Regions from separate parts of the Homo sapiens genome. Here region 2 is linked to region 1. The links are contacts of gene promoters, found by promoter capture Hi-C in human tissues and cell types (Jung and others, 2019). All regions are on one chromosome and are shown on one strand. Each heading gives the region's core, a stretch centred on a gene start or on the middle of the fragment in contact. The rest is flanking DNA. Distances are from core to core; before and after follow the strand shown.

What was found. The method cuts DNA at HindIII sites, captures the fragments that hold promoters and counts their contacts. A contact is called where the count stands out against the background at its distance.
Region 2: a fragment that was not itself captured here is called in contact with the fragment with the promoter of ASCC2 in region 1 in 1 of the 25 tissues and cell types used here (dorsolateral prefrontal cortex).

Annotation. Positions count from the first base shown.
Region 1 is chr22:29,837,024-29,841,052 of GRCh38, forward strand. ASCC2 (activating signal cointegrator 1 complex subunit 2) reads right to left here and starts at 1,251. Exons shown (of 20, transcript NM_032204.5): 1 at 1,155-1,251. RefSeq lists an enhancer at 1,524-1,583. The HindIII fragment of the contact is 14,310 bases long and covers 1-4,029 here.
Region 2 is chr22:29,567,369-29,571,671 of GRCh38, forward strand. It overlaps NIPSNAP1 (nipsnap homolog 1), which reads right to left. Exons shown (of 10, transcript NM_003634.4): 2 at 3,037-3,164; 3 at 2,794-2,839; 4 at 1,825-1,919. Among named protein-coding and RNA genes, the nearest start is that of NIPSNAP1, 12 kb to the right of the region's middle. RefSeq lists an enhancer at 1,812-2,106 and a silencer at 3,572-3,866. The HindIII fragment of the contact is 3,498 bases long and covers 77-3,574 here.

The sequences.
Region 1 (4,029 bases), core at 1-2,500:
AGCTATGTAGATAAGGCTCATGAAGCTGTGGCAGCATTTAAAAGAGAGACCTGGCTTGAGGAAGAAGTGATGTCAAGGAAGACCTGAGTTTTTGTCTAAAGCACGGGTACAAATTAAGTAGGCAGGGCTGGGCGCGATGGCTCACGCCTGTAATCCCAGCGCTTTGGGAGGCCAAGGCGGGCGGATCACGAGGCCAGGAGATCGAGACCATCCTGGCTAGCAAGGTGAAACCCCGTCTCTACCGAAAAAAAAAAAAAAAATTAGCAGGGCGTGGTGGTGCATGCCTGTAATCCTAGCTACTCAGGAGGCTGAGGCAGGAGAATCGCTTGAACCCGGGAGGCGGAGGTTGCAGTGGGACGAGATCACGCCACTGCACTCCAGCCTGGGCGACAGAGCAAGACCCCGTCTTGGGGGGAAAAAATAAATTAACTGGACAATCTGAACTTTGAGCTCCAAAAGGACAAACAATAATCATGACTATGTCTGTGCCCACCACTGTATTCCCCTGCCAGGCAGGACAGCAAAAGCCAAAAGCTAAGAAAGGGAGGGGGAGCTCCCTACAAGCACCCAATTGCAATATGGCCTGGGAGCATCCCCGGGGCTACTGCTCCCTCAGCCTCTTTGTCATCATTCCTCTAGTCTCTCAATTAAATACTACTCTCCTCAGAGACCTTCTGATGGCTCTGCCTATAGTATCCACTCTCCCAGTTACTGTCATAGCTTTAATGACCTTGTGCATTTGCTTGTCGTTGACCATCTCCTCCCACTAGACTGTAAGCTCCATGAGGGCAGAAGCCTTGTCTGTCTTGCTTTCTTTGTATCCCCAATGTCTAGATCTGTGTCTGGCACATAGGAAGCACTCCACAAATATTTGCTGAACGAATGAATGAACCCTGAGGAAACTGAAGCCCCGGGTGTGAGGACGTGGGGGGATCGTGGCTGGTCCAACGCCACTCTGGGGCCGAACTTCGAACCCGTGGCTCCTGACCCTGGCGGCCAAGTCTCGAGAGGCGGCTCACAACCCCTCAGGTAGCGTAAGCGTGGGCCCCGCAATGGAGGCCAGAGGATGGGAGAGCCAAGGCTGCCCAAGGCATAGCCGCGGCTCCTCCGGGGTCCCTTGCCCTGCATCTGGCAGGGACCAGCCACGCACTCACCTCGGCGGCTCCACCACCGGCTCTGTGCCGCCGCCGCCGCCGCCGCCGCCGACCACGGTGACAGCTCCCTGAGCGCCCGCACTTCCGGGGTCAAACTGCGATTCCGCAGGAGCAGACAGGAAGTCTCGGCCTGGCCCCGCCCCCAGAGCCGAGCAAACTACCGCCGGGAAGCCGGACCCGGGTTGCGCCTCTCTTCTTAAGACTCCGCCCCACACTCGGCGTCTGTAGCCACGCCCCCTTCCCCTCCTATCTCCCTTCCTGCTTAAGCAGAGAATAGGTCAGCTGAGGGCGGGCTGTGTGATTACACCTCTCGGGAAATCCAAGTATGGCACCTGAGAGGACGTCTCGGAATCCCAGGCTTCCACCTTCTGCCCGACCTCCTTAGTCACCGTTTTACATATTTAATCCAGAAGAGAAATTTTAACAAGTCAAAAGCACGAACATAATGTTAAGCAGATGTACAAGTACAGACTGCGATTTCATTTACGGGAAATTCTAGAACAGACAGAACTCATGAGTAGTGATGGTGTTAAAATTGGTGGTTTCCTCTGGGGCTGTGGGCTGGGAGGGGCCACAAGTGAGGCTGGGGTCACCCCCTGTCTTCATCTCGGTGGTAGCCATGTAGATGTGTTCACTTTGGAAAATTCATCAAATTGTACGCTTAAGATTTGTGCATTTTTCTGTATGTATGCAATACAGTTTTGTTCTGTTTTGTTTAAGGAAGTTACAAGTATAGCTATCCTAAGAGAAGGATGCAATTTTTTCTACAGAATGTCTCAGGTAATGTAGGTTTAGTGGTTCCTAAGCCTGACTATGGATCAGAATCATCACAGAAAACTTGTTAAGAACACACATTCCTGGCTTCATCTCAGTGCCTGGTACACAGTAAGAATTCAAAACCAACCACCATCATTATTGGGGTGTTATAGAAGCCCCCGAATGGAGAACACAACCCCACCCTGGGATTGTGAAATATTTCCCAGGACACTCCTGCCAACCCCTGCTATCTGCACTAGGGCTACAAGGAATGCTTAGTTCAGTGCCTGTCTTCAAGGGGCTTACAGGATAGGAAGTGCAAGAAAACCAATAGCAATGAGTCAGTGTGATGAATGCAGGGTGCTAAGGAAATAGGAGAGATGGGCTGTAAACCAGAAATGAGATGAGAGGGGCTGGATATTATATTAGTTTTGTATTGCTGCATAACATATTACCACAAACTTATAACAACACACTGCTTGCCACTTATAACAAACACATTTATTTATTTATTTATTTTGAGACAGAGTCTCACTCTGTCACCAGGCTGGAGTGCAGTGGTGTGATCTTGGCTCACTGTAACCTCTGCCTCCCGGAGGTTACAGTGGGTTCAAGCGATTCTCCTGCCTCAGCCTCCCAAGTAGGCAGGACTACAGGCATGAGCCACCAGGCCCAGCTAATTTTTGTATTTTTAGTAGAGACGGAGTTTCACCATGTTGGCCAGGATGGTCTCGATCTCTTGACGTCGTGATCCGCCTGCCTCAGCCTTCCAAAGTGCTGGGGTTACAGGCGTGAGCCACCACACCTGGCCAACAAACATATTTATTATCTCACATTTTCTGTGGGCCAGGAATCTGAGGATGGCATAGCTGGCTCCTCTGCATCAGGGTCACCCACAAGACTGCAATCAAGATATCGGCCAGGGCTGGAGTCTCATTTAAAGGCTCAACTCAAAAAGGATCTGCTTCCCATGTCTAGTGGCTAAATTCAGTTCCTTAATGGTTGTTGGACTAAGGGTCTCAGTTCCTAGCTGGATTTTGGCTAAAGGCTTGTCACGTAGGCTTCTCCAGTGTAGCAGCCTGCTTCATCAAAGCATGCAAGCCTAAAAGTTAATAGGGAAGCCAAGAGTGGTGGCACATGCTTATGGTTCCAGCAGGTTGGGAGGCTGAAGCAGGAGGATTGTTTGCGCCTAGGAGTTCAAATTGAGCCTGAGCAACATAGCAAGACCCAGTCTCTAAAAATTAAAAATAAATAAATAAATAAAAGAAGGCAATAGGGGCCGGGCACCGTGGCTCATGCCTATAATCCCAACACTTCGGGGGGCTAAGGTGGGAAGATTGCTTGAGCCCAGAAGTCTGAGGCCATCTTAGGCAACATAGCGAGACTTCGTCTCTACAAAAAAAAATTTAAAATTAGCCAGGCATGCTGGTGCATGCCTGTAGTCCCAGCTACTTAGGAGGTCGAGGCAGGAGAATTGCTTGAGCCCAGGAGTTCGAGGCTGCAGTTAGCTGTGATCACACCACTGCACTCCAGCCTGCACAACAGAGCAAGACCCTGTCTCAAACAAACAAAAGGAGGCAATAGGAGATTCTACTAAGAAGAGAGAAATTACAACCTCATGTAACCTAATCAAGAAAGTGACATCAGTTTTGCCATGTTCTATTTGTTAGTAGCAAGTCACAGGATTTGCCCACAGGGGATTACACAAGGGCATGAATACCAAAAGATGTGAATCAATGGAGGCCATTCTAGAGTCTGCCTGCCACAGATACTTGGAGGATGCATATCAACCCCAGGTCTGCAGCAGAGGAAGTAGAGGTGCAGAGAGATAAAGACAGTTGTGATAATAATGACCACATTTGTCAAACCCTTGCTTCATCCCAGGCACTGGAATAAGCATTTTACACATATTATCTCTTTGACTTTTTTTTTTTTTTAAATGAGATGGAGTCTCACTCTGTTACCCAGGCTGGAGTGCAGTGGCACGATCTTGGTTCACTGCAACCTCCGCCTCCCAGGTTCAAGCCATCCTCCTGCCTCAGCCTCCGTAGTAGCTGGGACTACAGGCATGCACTGGGCTAATTTTTGTATTTTTAGTAGAGATGGGGTTTTGCCATGT
Region 2 (4,303 bases), core at 576-3,075, 270 kb before region 1:
TATGTGCTGCATATTGGGGATTCACCCATATATGGAGACAGACAACTAAACAGGCAGCTATAGGGGTACATGATCAGGGCGTGAGGAGGTAATTACTGAGGCCTGGAGAGCTAAGGAAGGTGCCTGACCCAGCCCGCGTGGAGGAAATCTCGGCAGCCTTCCAGGAGGAGGTGACATCTATGCCAAAATAGAAAAGTGAATAGTCCAGGCACTGTGGCTCATGCCTGTACTCCCAGCACTTTGGGAGGCCAAAGTGGAAGGATCGCTTGAGCCCGGGAGTTTGAGACCACCCTGGGTAACATAGGGAGATCCCGTCTCTACAAAAAATTTAAAATAAATTAGTTGGGCATTGTGGCATGCACCTGTGGTCCCAGCTACTCAGGAGGCTGAGGTAGGAGGATTGCTTAAGCTCAGGAGGTTAAGGCTGTGTGAGCTGTGATCACACCACTGCACTCCCCACTGGGTAACAAGACCTGGTTTCAAAAATAAATAAATAAATGAAAATTTAAAAATGAATAAAACTGAAAGGCCAGGCACGGTGGCTCATGTCTACAATCCTAGCACTTTGGGAGGCCGAGGAGGTAGGATCATTTGAGTTCAGGAATTCAAGACCAGCCTGGGCAACATGGAGAAACCCCGTCTCTACCAAAAAACACAAAAATTAGCCGAGCATGGTGGAGCGCACCTATAGTCCCAGCTACTCAGGAAGCTGAGGTGGGAGTACTGCTTGAGCCTGGGAAATTGAGGCTCGAGTGAGCCAAGATTATGCCACTGCACTCCAGCCTGTGTGACAGAGCAAGACCCTGTCTCAAAAAAAAAAAAAAAAAAAAAAAAGGCCGGGAGTGGTGGCTCACTCCTGTAATCCCAGCACTTTGGGAGGCCGAGGCAGGTGGATCACCTGAGGTCAGAAGTTCGAGACCAGCCTGACCAACATGTGAAACCCCATCTCTACTAAAGATACAAAATTAGCCAGGCCTGGTGGCACAGGCCAGTAATCCCAGCTACTCGGGAAGCTGAGGCAGGAGAATATCTTCAACTCAGGAGGTGGAGGTTGCAGTCAGCCAAGACTGTGCCACTATCTGCCAGCCTGGGTGACAGAGCGAGACCCTGTCTCAAAAAAGAAAAAAGAAAAAAAAAAAAAAGGCCGGGTGCGGTGGCTCACACCTGTAATCCCAGCACTTTGGGAGGCTGAGGCAGGTGGATCACCTGAGATCAGGAGTTCAAGACCAGCCTGACCAACATGGTGAAATCCCGTCTCTACTAAAAATACAAAATTAGCTGGGCGTGGTGGCACATGCCTGTAATCCCAGCTACTCAGGAGGCTGAGACAAGAGAATTGCTTAAACTGGGGAGGCGGAGGTTGCAGTGAGCCGAGATTGCACTACTGCACTCCAGCCTGGGGCAACAAGAGTGAAACTCAGTCTCGGAAAAAAAAAGAATAAAAGACAGTGATCCAGGTAAAGCAGGCAAACAAGAAATAATGCTTAAGGCAGAAGAAAGAGAATGAGCAGTAGTCTGGAACTAAAGAGTGAAACTGTCAATCTGAGGAACTGAGTCCTGGGTGGGACAGCACAGCGAGGCATGGAGGATTTGGTGCCATGAGGCTGGGGGCAGGGCCGGGAAGGAGTCACAGGCTTCACGGGTCACCTTGAGGGCACAGGGGAGCCAGGACAGGTATTTGAGCAGGGGAGTGAGGTGATGAGGTTTTAGTAAGAGCCCCACCAGGTGCTGTTGTGGAGAGGGAGTGGAGAACAGCCAGGTGTGAAAGGTGCTGGAGGCCAGGGCTGGGCAGTGGCAATGGCACTAGGGAGGTGAGCGCCTTACCTGCCTGGTCCTGCTCCCCATACCACGTGTTCCAGTTGCCCACGAGTGAGCATGGGTAGTCCTCATCCAGGTGAAGCTTGGGCAGCACAGCCTCCCTGTGGGGGAGGTGCAGAGAGGGGCAGGGTTCACATAGCCACCAGGGCCTCTGAGATAAGGGTTCAAACTCAGTTCAAACAGACCCTGGGGCTGGGCCTCAGACTCTCCATCTCTAAAATGCAGAAGCTAGGCAAGAGGCCCTCAGGACTTCCGACACTGAAATTTACATCCTGGCTGGGCACAGTGGCTCACACCTGTAATCCCAACACTGGGAGGCTGAGGCAGGAGGATTGCTTGAGCCCAGTAGTTTGAGACCAGCCTGGGAAGCAAAGTGAGATCCCATCTCTCTTTTTTGTGTGTGAGACAGAGTTTTGCTCTTGTTGCCCAGGCTGGAGTGCAATGGCGCAATCTCGGCTCACTGGAACCTCCGCCTCCTGGAGACCATCTCTTAAAAAAAAAAAAAAGAAAGAAAGAAAATGGGGCCAAACGCAGTGGCACATGCCTGTAATCCCAGCACTCGGAGGCCGAGGCAGGTGGATCACCTGAGGTCAGGAGTTTGCGACCAGCCGGACTAACATGGTGAAACCCTGTCTCTACTAAATACAAAAAAATTAGCCATGCTTAGCGGCGCATGCCTGTAATCCGAGCTACTTGGGAGGCTGGAACAGGAGAATCGCTTGTACCTGGGAGGCAGAGGTTGCAGTGAGCCGAGATCGCGCCATTGCACTCCAGCCTGGGCAACGAGAGCAAAACTCCATCTCAAAAAAAAAGAAAGAGAGAAAGAAAGAAAGAAAGAAAAAGGCAGAAATAAAAGAAATCTACATCTCCTGGATTTCTACAGAAAAGAACAGGGTGGAGGATGTTCCGCAAATTTGCTGAAAGTGTGTTCCCCACCCAAGCAGGGGATGGGATGTATGGATGCAGGGTGCTCACGTGAGGCTGTTGTAGGCATCCAGGTATTCAGGCTTTACATTGTGAACTGCAACAGAGGACAGAGAACAAGAAGTGAGGTAGGGTGTGTACACAGGGAAGAACTTGGGGTGAGGGGAGCCCATCAAGGCCAGGGGTCCCAGGACAGCTGAGGACATTCCAGACCCTCCCATCTCCTTCCTGGAGCCTCACAGGCCCCCAGAGCCCCTGAAAGGGCAGAAATTGGTCAGCTCAGCAGCCACTCACACTGGATCTTATAGAGGTTGCTGGTTTCCTTCTTGGACAGCAGGGTGGAGTGGGCATCCTTCCGGGGATCCACTTTGTGAACAAAGAGGGAGCGGAACCAGCTGCCTTCATTGTCCTTGGAATAGAAACTGCAGGACAGAGGAGTTGAGGGGGACGCGCGGAGGTTGGGGGAGCCCCAGCAATTCCATCCACTTGGATGTCCTGCTCCCCTAGACCAGTGACCCACATTTCTGGGAACAGGGCCACGGAGTCCTGTGGCAGCTCCAGACTGTGAAATGCTATTGGAGCCAGCTCCTTTCTACAGATATTCCAGCTGCCCAGTTGGCTTCTTGAAGCTTTGCAGAGCCTCAGGACGCCAGGAGAGGCAGCCCCACCTCCCACTTCTCTCTCTAGCCTCCCTGCCTCCACTTCATCCCCCTTCCAAGAGGTCCTCTACTTGGGTCATATAACTCCAGCCTCTCGCCAAGAGGATCAACCCCAAATCCACCTTGCATCATGCCCAAAGCCCTTGACAACCCAACCTAACTTGTCAGCCTCCCCTCCTGCCCCCTCACCTGTACACCTCACTCTCCAGGTGTGCTCTTCCCTGAACACACCAGGATCTGCTACTCTGTGCTTTCTGTACAAGTTCTGTCCCCTCTAACGAGAAGACTGCTCTCACCGTCCTCCCCAGCACTCTCACAGTGCACTTGGCCCATGTCCCCACCCTGACCCCACACATGGAAAGCCAAATACAAATAAGCTTTGTCCTTGAGGAGCTCATAGTCCACTAGGAGAAATGGGCCTTGGGACACAATTATAGGAGGGGTCTCTGGAAGAGCCCAGGTGAACTAGCCTTAACTCTGCTTCTGGCAACCTGGGCAGACTCTCTACAGAGGAGGAGATGAGCTGGTCAGTCCCCAGGACTGGTTTGGCAGATAGAGGGAGTAAAAGGCACTGCAAAGCAAGATGCATTCACTCATCCAGCCAACACCTGCTCTGCCCATCTCCATAGGATACTGAGAATGAATGAATGAATGATCAATGAATATGATTATGTGCTTTGCCCATGAGCACTGTGGTTAAGGGCAGTGGAGGGTCTGCTGCCAGCTCCTACTGGACCAGAACTGCACTCCCATCCTAAACACATACCCAAGGTCCCAGCAGGAGGCAGGGGTGCTTATTTTGAGACTACCAATCTTCCCGCTCCACAGCCTTGGTGCAGCTTGCAGCCAGGCCTGAAAAGGAAGTCTCCCAATGGAGACAATTCCTAGCCAGGGAGCCTGGC